Linked DNA regions of Homo sapiens: region 1 is linked to region 2. The links are contacts of gene promoters, found by promoter capture Hi-C in human tissues and cell types (Jung and others, 2019). All regions are on one chromosome and are shown on one strand. The core of a region is centred on a gene start or on the middle of the fragment in contact, and the rest is flanking DNA. Distances in the headings are between cores, read along the strand shown.

Region 1 (6,722 bases), core at 3,270-5,769, 460 kb before region 2:
GCACAGTATCTGTGTAGTCCAGGAGAGCAAGGCGTGCCTGGGTCCATGCTGGCTCCTTATTGTGGCCAGCACACTGTGCTCGTGTAAGATGTTAACAGTGGGGCACCTGGGTGTGGAATATGTGAAAAGTCTCTACCATCTTCTCCATTCTTCTAAATCTAAACCCGTTCTAAAAAAAAAAAAAAAAAAGAAGAGTCTATTAAGAAGACAAAGAAGGAGCCGAAATTTCCACGTGGCAGAAGGCACTGGAACCGGTGAGATCTGATGTGTACCTGGGCCTGATCCACGTTTGCTGCATGGCTGGACACCTTCGTGGGCGCGTGGAAGCTCATGCTGTGGGGGGAGCTGTGGGAGGAGCATGCGGCAGGTGGAGGTCTTCTGCGCGTGGGTGGGCACGCGGAAGCTCGTGCTGTGGGGGGAGCTGTGGGAGGAGTGCTGGAGGAGCCCTGGGAGGAGTGTTCAGGAGGCGGAGCGTGCCTCGTGCGCGTTGGTGGGTATGAGTGGCGTTGGTGGGATCTAGCTGACCACCTCCCACCTGGTTGGTCTGCATCTGTAGACAGCTTAGTTCTTAGGATTCTAGGTACCCAGTGTCATTTCCGACACCTGCTTGGGCTCCCTGTACTGCCAGGGCTGTTGAGTCTTTACAGCACCTCTGATCAGGAGCCCTGGCCTTGGGGAGGTGGGACAGGCACACGTCTGGGTTGCTGGGTTGCCTTTAGGGGTAAGCTCTTCCTTTTGTCTTCTGTTCAAAAGAGGGCCCACAGTGGATTCAGGCCTCTGATTTACCACTGCCTGGAGCTTGGGGAATGCTCTCCAGTGACAACCTGGGCTTCCGTGGGATTTAATTTTGATATATTGGCCTTTGTGTGTAGGAAGAGTCCAAACTCACGACCGGATGGATTGTCCTCCTCAGACTAGACACTTCATCCAGAGAGGACTCTGAGCCAACCCTAAGGGATTCAGGCTGGAGCTCTGGTTCCCCGCACGGAGGTGGCGCAGGAATGCATCGTCCTCCCCTGTCCTGACTTGTCAGCGCTCCTGCGCTCATGCCTGGGAGCCTGGACCCCAGCTCTGTCCCGACTTGTCAGTGCTCCCGCGCTCATGCCTGGGAGCCTGGACCCCAGCTCTGTCCCGACTTGTCAGTGCTCCCGCGCTCATGCCTGGGAGCCTGGACCCCAGCTCTGTCCCGACTTGTCAGTGCTCCCGCGCTCATGCCTGGGAGCCTGGACCCCAGCTCTGTCCCCACTTGTCAGTGCTCCCGCGCTCATGCCTGGGAGCCTGGACCCCAGCTCTGTCCCAACTTGTCAGTGCTCCCGCGCTCATGCCTGGGAGCCTGGACCCCAGCTCTGTCCCGACTTGTCAGTGCTCCCGCGCTCATGCCTGGGAGCCTGGACCCCAGCTCTGTCCCGACTTGTCAGTGCTCCCGCGCTCATGCCTGGGAGCCTGGACCCCAGCTCTGTCCCGACTTGTCAGTGCTCCCGCGCTCATGCCTGGGAGCCTGGACCCCAGCTCTGTCCCGACTTGTCAGTGCTCCCGCGCTCATGCCTGGGAGCCTGGACCCCAGCTCTGTCCCGACTTGTCAGTGCTCCCGCGCTCATGCCTGGGAGCCTGGACCCCAGCTCTGTCCCGACTTGTCAGTGCTCCCGCGCTCATGCCTGGGAGCCTGGACCCCAGCTCTGTCCCGACTTGTCAGTGCTCCCGCGCTCATGCCTGGGAGCCTGGACCCCAGCTCTGTCCCCACTTGTCAGTGCTCCCGCGCTCATGCCTGGGAGCCTGGACCCCAGCTCTGTCCCGACTTGTCAGTGCTCCCGCGCTCATGCCTGGGAGCCTGGACCCCAGCTCTGTCCCGACTTGTCAGTGCTCCCGCGCTCATGCCTGGGAGCCTGGACCCCAGCTCTGTCCCGACTTGTCAGTGCTCCCGCGCTCATGCCTGGGAGCCTGGACCCCAGCTCTGTCCCGACTTGTCAGTGCTCCCGCGCTCATGCCTGGGAGCCTGGACCCCAGCTCTGTCCCGACTTGTCAGTGCTCCCGCGCTCATGCCTGGGAGCCTGGACCCCAGCTCTGTCCCGACTTGTCAGTGCTCCTGCGCTCATGCCTGGGAGCCTGGACCCCAGCTCTGTCCCGACTTGTCAGCGCTCCCGCGCTCATGCCTGGGAGCCTGGACTCCGGTTTACATTTCTCAGCGTGTCCTTGGGCTGTGTGTGGTCTGCGTGTCCCTGGGGTTGTCTGTGGGGTCATGTGGCCCCTCTGGGCTGCCTGGTTTCCTTTTCTCCCACATCGTGTCTGGCATTTCTTTATTCAGAAATGAGGCATCTGTTGTTGGCTTCCCTGTGGAGTTTGTGTCCCTCCCTGAGCTCCCGCCTCTGTGGGGCCAGCCCCAGTGTGGACTTGTGGCCCCCTGTGCTGCTGGGCCTCAGGTTTGGGTCTGCGGAGTACATGGGTGTGAGTGCTCTGACCACTGGACTCTTAAAACATGCAGCCCTCTTTGACTGTGACACTGGACATGTGCAAAGCTTGGGGACTGATCAAAAAGTATAAAGAGGCCATTGAAAAAGACCTTGACTCCTGCACCCAGAGGTAGCACCAAGAACATGGCATGCATTTCATCTCCACGTCTCCCTTCTCTCCTTTCCTCCCCTGTTCATTCATTCAGCCAATCTATCAGCCAACCAGTAAGCACTCACGGACACCCACGTGCGCAGGTGCCATGGAGGCAGCCGAGTGTGGGGACTGCTGTGGCAGAGCTGGCAGCCTTGTGTGCTTCCTGCACTTGTGACATTTTATTGCAGCCAGTGCCTGTGCCATTAAGCATTCCTTGAAAATAAAATCTTTTTTGGCTGTACGATGTTTCTTCGTGTAGACATACCAAAAGTAAACTCTTGGCCGGCTGCGGTGGCTCATGCCTGTAATCCTAGCACTTTGGGAGGCTGAGACGGGTGGATTGCCTGAGCTCAGGAGTTCGGACCAGCCTGGGCAACACGGTGAAACCCCGTCTCTACTAAAATACAAAAAATTAGCTGGGCGTGGTGGTGTGTGCCTGTAGTCCCACCTACTCAGGAGGCTGAGGCAGGAGAATCGCTTGAACCCGGGAGACAAAGGTTGCTGTGAGCCTAGATCACACCATTGCACTCCAGCCTGGGCGACAGCGAGACTCCGTCTCCAAAAAAAAAAAAAAGGAGACTCTTTATTGGAAATTTAGCTTTGTTTTTAATTTTTTCATGATTATTGCTAATGTGTGCAACATCCTTGGACTCAGTGCTTTCCCCATATCTGATTCATTTGTTATTTATTTATTTGTTTAGACACAGGGTCTTGCTCTGTCGCCCAGGCTGCAATGTGGTGGCGCCATCTTGGCTCACTGCAGTCTTGAACTCCAGGGCTCAATATATCCTCCTGCCTGAGCCTCCCCAGTAGCTGGGACTATAGGTGCATGCCGCCCCGCCTGGCTAATTAAAAAAAAATTTTTTTTGTAGAGATGGGGTCTCACTATGTTGCCCAGGCTGGTCTCAGGTGATTCTCCTGCCTCGGCCTCTCACAGTGCTGGGATTGCAGGTGTGAGCCACCGCAGTCTGATTACTTTTTAGGCAATTGTTACTGAGTGGAAGGGTGTGAACACCTTCAGGACCCTTGGCCAGTTTTGCTGACTCGTTTTCCAGAAGCGCCCGTGACTGCTGTCCCAGCAGGTGTAGCGTGCAGCCCTCATGGCCTCACTCGTGCTGAGTGTTAGCATTTTACTTCTTGCCACTCCAGGTGAGGAACGGGTCTTAATGAATTTTGTGTTTGTCAGTTACGTTTCTTCTGTTGATTGTTGATTTTTCCCAGTTTTCTATTACCGTGTTAGTGATTTTCCTATTGATTTGTAAAAGGTTTTCATGTATTTGTGGCACGTTTTCCCCAGTTTGTCTTTTACCTTTTGTGTTTTTAAGTGGCGTTTTGGGACCCACGGAGGTGTTGGTGTGGCGAAGCGTGCTGGTCTTTCTCTGTCATTCCTTCCACTGCTTCGGGGCCCACAGCCTTTCAGGGCCTTGCTCCATGGAGTATCCATCTTGTTTCCTTTAGTTCTAGTGCAGTGAAGCAGGCGAGGGCAGGGGTGACCGGGTCATCTGGGCTGGTTCAAACTGGGGCTCCGCACCCAGGTGTTCTGTGCCCCCGGGGTGCGTTACTCACACCTGCAGCACCCGGGCTGTCTCTGTGAGAATGGGATGATCGAAGGGCCCACCTCCTGGCCAGCACAGGGCCTGGCACGTGGTGCCTGGCTGGCGAGTGTATGAGTGGGGTGCTGGGCTGGGAGCGTGAGCTCTCGGAGTTCTGCGTCTGTTTATCATGGCCAGTCAGTGGCAGCGTCAGCTGGGTGTCCTCAGCCCACGCTGCTGTACCCCAAGAAGGCAGTAGACACGTGATACCAGTGGGCTGGGGGCATCTTCTCAGCTGGTGCCCTCTCCACGTCCTTCTGCGGGGGCGCCTTGCCCCCCTGCCCCATGCACACTCTCCCTGTGTGCAGAGTGGGTCTTCCTTCCTGGTGTGGGGCTCCCTGAGTGCCCTGCCTGTCCTCGCCTGTTCTTACAGTGCTCACGTCTGCCTCCCTCTCCAGGCTGAGTTCTGGGAGAGCAGGCCGGCGCCACCCCCCTCACCACTTGCTAGGAGCTGGCCTGACCCTGGTGGGAGCCCACAGCCCTGGGCGCGAATTCAAAATGCCAGAAGCAGCACAGGGTCCCTCGAGCCTGGTGGGAGGTACTTCCCATGGGCGAGTCATCTTGTTTTGAATTCTCCTCATGCTGATTTCTGGCCCCACTCAGCCCAGCACAGCTCTGAAGGAGACGAAGGCAAGGCCAGCTCTCCCCAGCTGAGATGAGCTTTCAGTTGAGGAAGGACCCTGATGTCAGAGCTGTTTGGGTAATGGCCTGCCCCTGGCCATGGATGTGCACCAAATCTTTTCAGGACTCGTGGGGTCACTGCTGCCCGGGGGCTTTAGGTAGCTATTAGAGCCCAGGGCTGGGCAAGCGCTTTCCCACCTGCCCGTTAGCATGATGGCCAAGAGCCCAGGCTCGGCTTCACGGAGGCTGGAGACCTGGGGCGCGCGCCTTCCCCTGGAGCCTTGTCCTCATCTGAAAGGGAGGACTCCAGCCTGCCTCAGGAGGTGGTTCCGAGGACTGATTGGCTGATGGTTTCACTCGTTCATTTTTTAATTGAACACACAGTTCCTGAGCACCTGTTCTGTTCCAGGCACTGGACAGGGACTGGGGCCGGGCGTCCCGCATGAATGAGGGGTCAGGGAGCTGATGCATGGAAACTCCTTGGCACAAGGCCCGGAGTGTGCCTGGCACCCTGGGCACTGGCTGCCTGCCTGTTACCCGTCGGTGGAGAAAGCCACCTAGACTTTGCAGCACTGTAAGATTTTTGAACTGTAGAAGACCAAGTCCATCTAATTCCCTGTTTTGCTGATAGGAACGCTGGAGGCCTAGAGAGGAAAGGAACCCGTCTGACTGCTCAGGCTGAGTAGTGGCCCCAGAGCCGTGACTCCACTGTGCTGTCTGTTTCCCACGTTGCCCTGCTCTCCTTTCTCCCTGTCCTGTCAAATAAACTGCACTCAAAATAGAGCCATGCGGCACAGGGCCTGTCTCAGGCCCATGGCCCCATATCCGCGTGGGTCAGGCATGCTGGCGAGACCTTGCGAGGGTCACGTCCTCCTCCCTGGTGAGGGGCCGTCTGCAGCCACTGTGGCTTGGGTATGGCTTCCTGTCAGGATGGTCCCAGTGCCCTCCCAGATGTGCACGGCACCCACGTCGTCATAGCGCAGGTGTGAGCAGCTGCTGTAACAAGGCTGGTGCTGGTTCAGGTGGATGCTGGGGAATGCATTTATACAGCGAACACAAATGAAGTGGAATTTGTCATAGAGCAGTGTGAAATGTAAGTAAAATTGCCTCGGGAAATCATAATTGATTCCACTCCTTCCTACAATAGGTGTTGTAGAGCTTTTTATCAGAGGTTGAAATTGTAAAAACCAGGCTTGCTGGTGGGGAGCCCAGAACAGCCCCTTTTCCCCCTCCCCCACAGCTACACGTGGGTGGTGGAGGCCAGTGGGGAGGGTGTGACGGCAGGAAGCCAGAGGAGGAGCTGGCTGAGGGTAACCCCAAGACAGCTGTGGGGCAGGGAAGGGAGCGTGCTCTGTGTGCCTGGTGCAGCTGCAGGCAGAGGGGTGAGTAGTGGGAGAGGACCCCGTGCTTCCTCTCTGAGCGGCCTGGTGTTCAGCCTCCTGCTGCCTTCAGGAGAGCTCGCGTAGGTGCAGTTCATGGAGAATGCACAGCTGGCTGCTGGAGGGAGGATGCTGCTGAAGGCTGGGGACCGTTTTTTCTCCTGGGGGCTCCTCCGAATCCAGTCGCCCAGCAGAAATAGAGCTTTGTCAACAGTAAACCGGGTTTATTGGTCAGATAAGATAACCTTGTAATGAGACTTGTGGAACTTGAGGCAAAAATGAGGAAGAACAGAGAGGATGGAATGGGAACAAGGGAGAGACATGGTATCATCAAGCTCTGAGCAAGGTTGGCCGAGAGCACCAGGCGCAGGTTGGGGGCTGAGGAGGACAGAAACGCGTCTGACAGCAGGGCGCCTCCCACGGGGCCCCGGAAACCCTCGCTGACCCACAGTATTGCCCTTCAAAACCTGGTCATTGGTGCCCATTACAGAGAACCCTTTCATCGGGAAAAGAGACCGTTTCTCCTCAT
Region 2 (6,887 bases), core at 1,368-3,867:
CTGGGAAGTTGATATGCTTCCTGTTTTTTGAGTATTAGAACCATGAAACTCATCATCTCTCCTTTTGTGTACTGGCTGCAAGAATGCTCAAAAATGAATTTCCCCTTGATTTATGTCTATTTTGATCATTTTCTGTATGCATGCTTTTTATTTTAGGCCTCCAGAAATCATCATTGGAAGGAGCATGCTTCATTTGACTTGACTTGGATTGGATACGAAGTCATCAAATGGTGAGAAGAGGGAGTCAAGATCTTCCTTGGAGCTTCAGTGGTGTAAATGTCAGAGGTGTTTGAACCAGAGCAACTTCATCTTGAATAGGGGCTGGGTAAAATGAGGCTGAGATCTGCTGGGCTGCATTCCCAGACAGTTAAGGCATTCTATGTCACAGGATGAGATAAGAGGTCGGCACAAGCTACAGGTCATAAAGACCTTACTGATAAAACAGTTTGCAGTAAAGAAGCTGACCAAAACCCACCAAACCAACATGGCGATGAGTGTGACCTCTGGTCGTCCCAGCTGCTACACTCCCACCAGCGCCGTAAGTTTACAAATGCCATAGCAATGCCAGGACGTTACCCTAAAGGGTTTAAAAAGGTAAGGCACGAATAATCCACCCCTTGTTTAGCATATCATCAAGAAATAACCACAAAAATGGGCAACCAGCAGCCCATGCTGCTCTGCCTATGGAGTAGCCATTCTTTATTCTGTTACTGGTGGAGGGTGTCCAGGTTCTTGGCATCTTGAACAAAGAATTGGACAAAATGCACAAAGCCACCGGGCGCGGTGGCTCACACCTATAATCCCAGCACTTTGGGAGGCCGAGGCGGGCAGATCACCTGAGGTCAGGAGTTCAAGACCAGCCTGGCCAACATGGCGAAACCTCGTCTCTACTAAAAACACAAAAGTTAGCCGGGCATGGTGACGCACGTCTGTAATCTCAGCTACTCAGGAGGCTGAGGCAGGAGAATTGCTTGAACCCGGGAGGCAGAGGTTGCAGTGAGGATCACGCCACTGCACTCCAGCATGGACAACAGAGACTCTGTCTCAAAAAAAAAAAAATGCACAAAGCAAAAAAAGAATGAAGCAACAAAAGCAGAAATTTTTTGAAAATGAAAGTACATTCCATGGTGTGGGGGCGGCCAAAGCATAGAGGCTCAGGGCCCCATTACAGAACTTGTGAGGTTTAAATACCCTCTAGGGGTTTCTACTGGTTACTTGGTGTACGCCCTATGTAAATAAAGAGGATGAAATAAAGTTACAAAATCATTTACTCAGTGTACACCCTATGGAGAGGGTATTTCCTGTCATAGCTGAAGTGTTCCCTGCCTCCAGACCCTGTTTTCCTGCCTCAATTCCTTTACTTTTCTAATAAACTTGCTTTCACTTTGTGGACTCGCCCTCAATTCTCTCTTGGGGTCTGGATCGGGACCCCTTTCTGGTAATATAGACAGAAAATACGGCCTTGACATGGTTGTCAGGAAACGACAGTAAGGCCTCCGAGGGTGGGGTTCTGAAGGGATGTTAAACGCCCCACCCCGAGGAAGGCTCTGGAGGCTCCAATCACTTTCAGCCTCTGCTACCAAGATGTCCGACCCTACCAATAAAACTTCCAGCAGCGGGGCGCGGTGGCTCACGCCTGTAATCCCAGCACTTTGGGAGGCCGAGGAAGGCAGATCACCTGAGGTCAGGAGTTCAAGACCAGCCTGACCGACATGGTGAAACCCCATCTCTACTAAAAATTTAAAAAGTTAGCCGGGCCTGGTGGCGCACGCCTGTAATCCCAGCTACACAGGAGGCTGAGGCAGGAGAATTGCTTGAACCAGGGAGGCGGAGGCTGCAGTGAGCCGAGATCGCGCCACTGCACTCCAGCCTGGGTGACACAGCAAGACTCCGTCTCAAACAAAACAAAACAAAAAACCTTCCAGCTTGGAGAAACTGAGAGTGAGCAGTAGGGAGTGAGGGGGTCCCTGGGAGGAACCAGAACTCATCCCGCTTCAGGGTGGGGCTGGCCCCCTTCTTGGCCTTGGCCGGGGCTTCGTGTCACGGAGCGCCCGAGGGACGGTCGGAGCCCACCCCAGCCCGCCCGCCGCCTGAGCCTGGCCGAGCTCTCTGCACCTGCACACGTCTGTAAAACGCGGATGAAACGCTTCTACGGAACCGGGTGGCTGAGATGAAGTGAGTTATGGGTATAAAGCGCTTAGAGCGATGCCTGGCGGACACTCGGTGCCAAATAAGCGTTCGCTGTGGCGACGATGACGCCTCCAGCCCAAAGCCCGTGGTCGAGCAGGGCCGGGCTCCCAGCGCTAGGGGGTTCCTAGGCGCGGCGCTTCGGGGGTCCTGGACACAGACACGGGGGACAGAGCTCCTACCAGCGACGATCCCGAGGGTCTGCAGCAGAGGGGCTGAGGCCCGGGACGGGGGTGGTCGCAGCGCCCTTTCCTGAAAAAACGGGGTTCGGCTCTAAGGCGCCCCCAAGCCCTGCCGGCAGCGCGGAACCCGAGCCGCTCAGAAGCCCGGGAGCCCCAAGTCTCCGGGACCAGAAGCGCCGCGGCCCTGACTTCCGGAAGGTGGACGGAACCCGCGGACGGGGCGGGCCCGCGTGGCGCACGCAGAGCCACTTCCGGGCGCGGCGCCGGCTTGGTGAGCGCGGGTACCCGCGGGCTTCCCCGGGCGGCTGCGTCCCCAGTAGCCCGGCCGGCCTCGGCACCGCGTGTCGTGGGGGTCCCGGGCCGCGGCTGCAGGGCCGGGGCGGCGGCGAGGCCGAGGGGCGGGAAGCCACTGCCCGGCCTGGCAGTGTGAACGTGCAAGTCGATCCCCTAACCCAGAAAGCCCCAGGCGCGGTCTCTATGGGCGGCCCCGCTCCTGCTTCTGTTTTATTTTTTTACGGACAGGGTCTCGCTCTACCGCCCGGGTTGTAATGCAATGGTGTGATCACGGCTCACCGCAGCCTCGACCTCCCGGGCTGAAGCGATCTTCCCGCCTCAGCCTCCTGAGTAACTGGGACCACAGGCGCGCCCTGCTGGTTTTTTTTTTTTTTTTTTTTGGTAGAGATGGGGGTCTCGCTATGTTGGCCAGGCTGGTCTCGAATTCCTGGCCTCAACGATCGTCCTGTCTCGGCCTCCCAAAGTGCCGGGATGACAGGCATGAGCCACCGCGCCTGGCCCCTTCTTTTGAATGGGCCTCCTTGCGTTTCCGTTTCAATGCCCCGTGCTACTTTTTTGGGAGCCCCAAGGCTGTACTGTTTGATTGACTCCTTTTTTTCCCCTTTCTTTTTAACCTAAATTAAAGCTGCCACTGCAGAGCCCCGCCATGGAAGACACGCCGTTGGTGATATCGAAGCAGAAGACGGAGGTGGTGTGCGGGGTCCCCACCCAGGTGGTGTGTACGGCCTTCAGCAGTCACATCCTGGTGGTGGTGACCCAGTTTGGGAAGATGGGCACCCTGGTCTCCCTGGAGCCCAGCAGCGTGGCCAGTGACGTCAGCAAGCCTGTGCTCACCACAAAAGTCCTTCTGGGGCAGGATGAGGTAAAGTGGATTGGCCGGGAACTGTGGCTCACGCCTGTAACCCTAGCACTTTCAGAGGCCTAGGCGGGCAGATCGCTTGAGGCCAGGAGTTTGAAACCAGCCTGGGCAACACAACAACACACACACAAGTCACTACAAAAAAACAAGTGCCTACACAAAATATATATATAGAGAGAGGCTGGGTGCAGTGGCTCACACCTGTAATCCCAGCACTTTGGGAGGCTGAGGCGGGCAGATCACTTAAGGTCAGAAGTTCCAGACCAGCCTGGCCAACATGGGGAAACCCCATTTCTACGAAAAATATAAAAATTAGCTGGGTGTGGTGGCACATGCCTGTAATCTCAGCTACTCAGGAGGCTGAGGCAGAAGAATCGCTTGAACCCGAGAGGCGGAGGTTGCAGTGAGCTAAGATCGTGCCACAGCACTCCAGCCTGGGTAACAGATAGAGACTTGGTCTTAAAAAAAAAAGGAAAAGAAAAGGAAACAAAAAATTAGCTGGGCCTAGTGGTGTGTGCCTGTGCTCCCAGCTACTTGGGAGGCTGAGGTGGGAGGATGGCTTGAGCCCTGGAGGTTGAGGCTGCAGTGAGCCATGATTGTGCCACTGCGCTCCAGCCTGGGTGAGAGAGCAAGACTCTGTCTTTAATAATAATAATAATAATAATAATAATAAAGTGGTCAGGAAGGGACCCCCAGGGAGGAGCATAAACCTCTCCAGTGGCTGTGATTTGTCAGTAAGGACATGGGGCATCTGGCGGACAAATACCCCTACAGCGATAGCATTTTCCGGGCATTTGTGGGTCTCAAGGCGCCCTGCTTGCCCTCAGTGGATGCTTTGTCCAGCCCGCAGGCATTTTATCCAGCAGACAAGCAGAAGCAGCAGTTTTGTCATTCGAGCCGCCTCCCCTGCCATGGTACATTACGTGAGCAGGCGGCTGGCTGTGCTGTGCTCTGTGGAGATCACACGTGAGATTCGACAGCACTCGCTTCTGCAGGCTTCTCTTTCCTGGGTTCTTTTAGATGAGAGAGAGCCAGAAGAGGCGGGGCTGCGGAAGGCGCTGGGAAAATGAATGGAGTGATGGTCTTTAGCAGTGTGCCCGTGACTGGAGTGTTCTGAGTGCTGCCAGAACTCTGAGTCACAGTTGCATGGACTTATGTGGCGGTTAATGGTGGTGTGGGAAGCCTGCCTGGGTTCCTAAGGGATACTTCATGAAAGCATTGAGGAAAAAACCAGGTTTCTTGCAGTTAAAATGGTTTCTTCTCCTTCCTTTACCAGCCTCTCATCCATGTCTTTGCAAAGAACCTGGTAGCGTTTGTGTCTCAAGAAGCTGGAAACAGAGCAGTCCTCCTCGCCGTGGCCGTGAAGGACAAAAGCATGGAGGGGCTGAAGGCGCTGAGGGAGGTGATCCGGGTGTGCCAGGTGTGGTGACCTGGAGGCAGCCGCCCCGCGCTGCTCAGCAGGACACGTGAACACCCAGACACCCACTCAGGGACTCAAGTCTCACCTCCCTCCCCGGTGGAGGGAGGAACTTTGGCACTAGCCCTTGGAGCCAGGAAAAAAGACTCGTGTCTCAGGCAGACTCTTACTCTGGTTACTAAGATCATCTGTGCATGACGGGGAGGGTGGAACAGGTCCCGGAGGAGTCGTGAATGGTTCTCACCAGGACCTGAATCGTTGCTTGTGTTTGAGAATTGGAGGAATGAGTCAGCAGGCGTGGCTCATGGCCCCCCCGTGTGCAGGATCAATTGTAGGAGGAAATTTCTTTTTTATTAAAAGCGAATGTGTATCCCAAAATACTTCACTGTCCTCCTTAACAGTAGCGAGACATTGCAGCCGCACAGCATGAGTTCAGTTTCATGGGCTTCATGAAGGGAAGCTTGTTGGGCAGAAACGCAGAGGGACGTAGTTCCCAGGAACTGGGTGGATCCCATGCTTGGGCCTGTGCACGCTGTCACCCAGCTCCAACTCCAGTAACTTCTCTGAGCCTGCTGGGAAGCTGGTGGCCGTCAGCGGACATCTCTTACTATCTTAATGTGTGTGCCCGTTACCGTGCTGCAGCTGGGGACAGACGCTGTCCTCTGAATCCTGCATAGCAAGGGAGGGGGGACGCTTCTGTCAAGGGAGCAGCGTGCACAGAGGTCAGGAGAGAGGAGCACGGGAGGGCAGGGCACTGTGGGGTGGGTCGCCAGGGTTCACTGGGGTGTGGCTGAACATGACCTCCGTGTGGGGGTAGGCGCGGGTCCTTCTGGGCTGAGGCTGCAGGACTTAGTCTTGTGGGGAGCAGTGTTGGCAGGCGTGGGCCTCAGGGTGGCATTTACAGCCCTGATAAGTGGCAGCCTGGGCCCCGCCTGGCTCTCCCTCCAGCCACTGCGAGGGACGCTTCGCTGATCCTGCCTGAGTTGGGATTTCTGAGGCTGGAAGTCGGAGCTTTGGACCCCTTCACTCTGACAGTCTCACGAGAAACAGCAGCAACTGGAGAGCTGGGTTGGGTGACCGGATCCCGAAGCGGAAACCAGGCGAGGCTCTGGAGCGAAGTGAGCGCCCAGTGGGCCCTTCCAGGGAGTTGGGGGTTTACTGCCTTAGGTACCTGTAAACAAACGGGCATAGGGTGTGTGTGGAATCAGAAAGGAATATTCCCCTTTTTCTTTTTCTTTCTTTTTTTTTTTTTTTAAATGGAGACTGGTCTCTGTGTTGCCCAGGCTGGTCTCAGAACTCCTGGCCTCAAGTGATCCTGCCACCTCAGCCTCCCAAAGTGGTAGGATCACAGGCATGCATCCTGCTCATTTCTTTCCTTTTTCTTCTTCTTCTTTTTTTTTTAATTGTCACGCCTATTACCCCATTCTGAACCCCTGCTTGTTTCTTTTTTTTTTTTTAAGGCAGAGTCTCCTTCTGTCACCCAGGCTGGAGCGCAGTGGTGCAATCTCAGCTCACTGCAACCTCCGCCTCCCGGGTTCAAATGAGTCTCAGCCTCCCGAGTGGCTGGGACTGTAGGTGTGCACCACCACGTTTGGCTAATTTTTTGTATTTTTTGGTAGAGACCGGGTTTCACCATATTGTTCAGGCTGGTCTGGAACTCCTGACCTCAGATGATCCACCCTCCTCAGCCTCCCAAAGTGCTGGGATTACAGGTGTGAGCCACCGCACCCAGCCTAACCCCTACTCATTTCTAATGGCTTCTGAAGTCCTGCAATTTTCTTTTTCTTTCTTTTTTTTTGAGATAGGGTCTCACTCTGTCGCCCAGTCTGGAGTGCAGTGGTGCAGTCTCAGCTCACTGCAGCCTTGACCTCCCAGGTTCAAGCCATCCTCCCATGCTCAGCCAAGCCACCCAAGTAGCTGGAACTACAGGTGCCTGCCTCATGCCTGG

What was found. Contacts are between HindIII fragments. The study calls those that stand out against the background at their distance.
Region 1: a fragment that was not itself captured here is called in contact with the fragment with the promoter of PSMG3 in region 2 in 1 of the 25 tissues and cell types used here (spleen).

The regions. Positions count from the first base shown.
Region 1 is chr7:2,030,675-2,037,396 of GRCh38, reverse strand. All of the region lies in intron 12 of MAD1L1 (mitotic arrest deficient 1 like 1), which reads left to right. Among named protein-coding and RNA genes, the nearest start is that of SNORA114, 55 kb to the left of the region's middle. RefSeq lists enhancers at 3,942-4,621, 5,304-5,985. The HindIII fragment of the contact is 6,845 bases long and covers 1,097-6,722 here.
Region 2 is chr7:1,565,762-1,572,648 of GRCh38, reverse strand. It overlaps PSMG3 (proteasome assembly chaperone 3), which reads left to right and starts at 2,617. Exons shown (of 2, transcript NM_032302.4): 1 at 2,617-3,525; 2 at 4,799-5,317. The coding sequence starts at 3,310. The coding sequence ends at 4,951. It overlaps PSMG3-AS1 (PSMG3 antisense RNA 1), which reads right to left and starts at 2,576. Exons shown (of 5, transcript NR_027329.1): 1 at 2,370-2,576. RefSeq lists enhancers at 1,566-1,615, 1,626-1,695, 2,319-2,887, 4,594-5,162, 5,042-5,336 and 1 more and silencers at 1,996-2,075, 2,516-2,945. The HindIII fragment of the contact is 18,965 bases long and covers 1,661-6,887 here.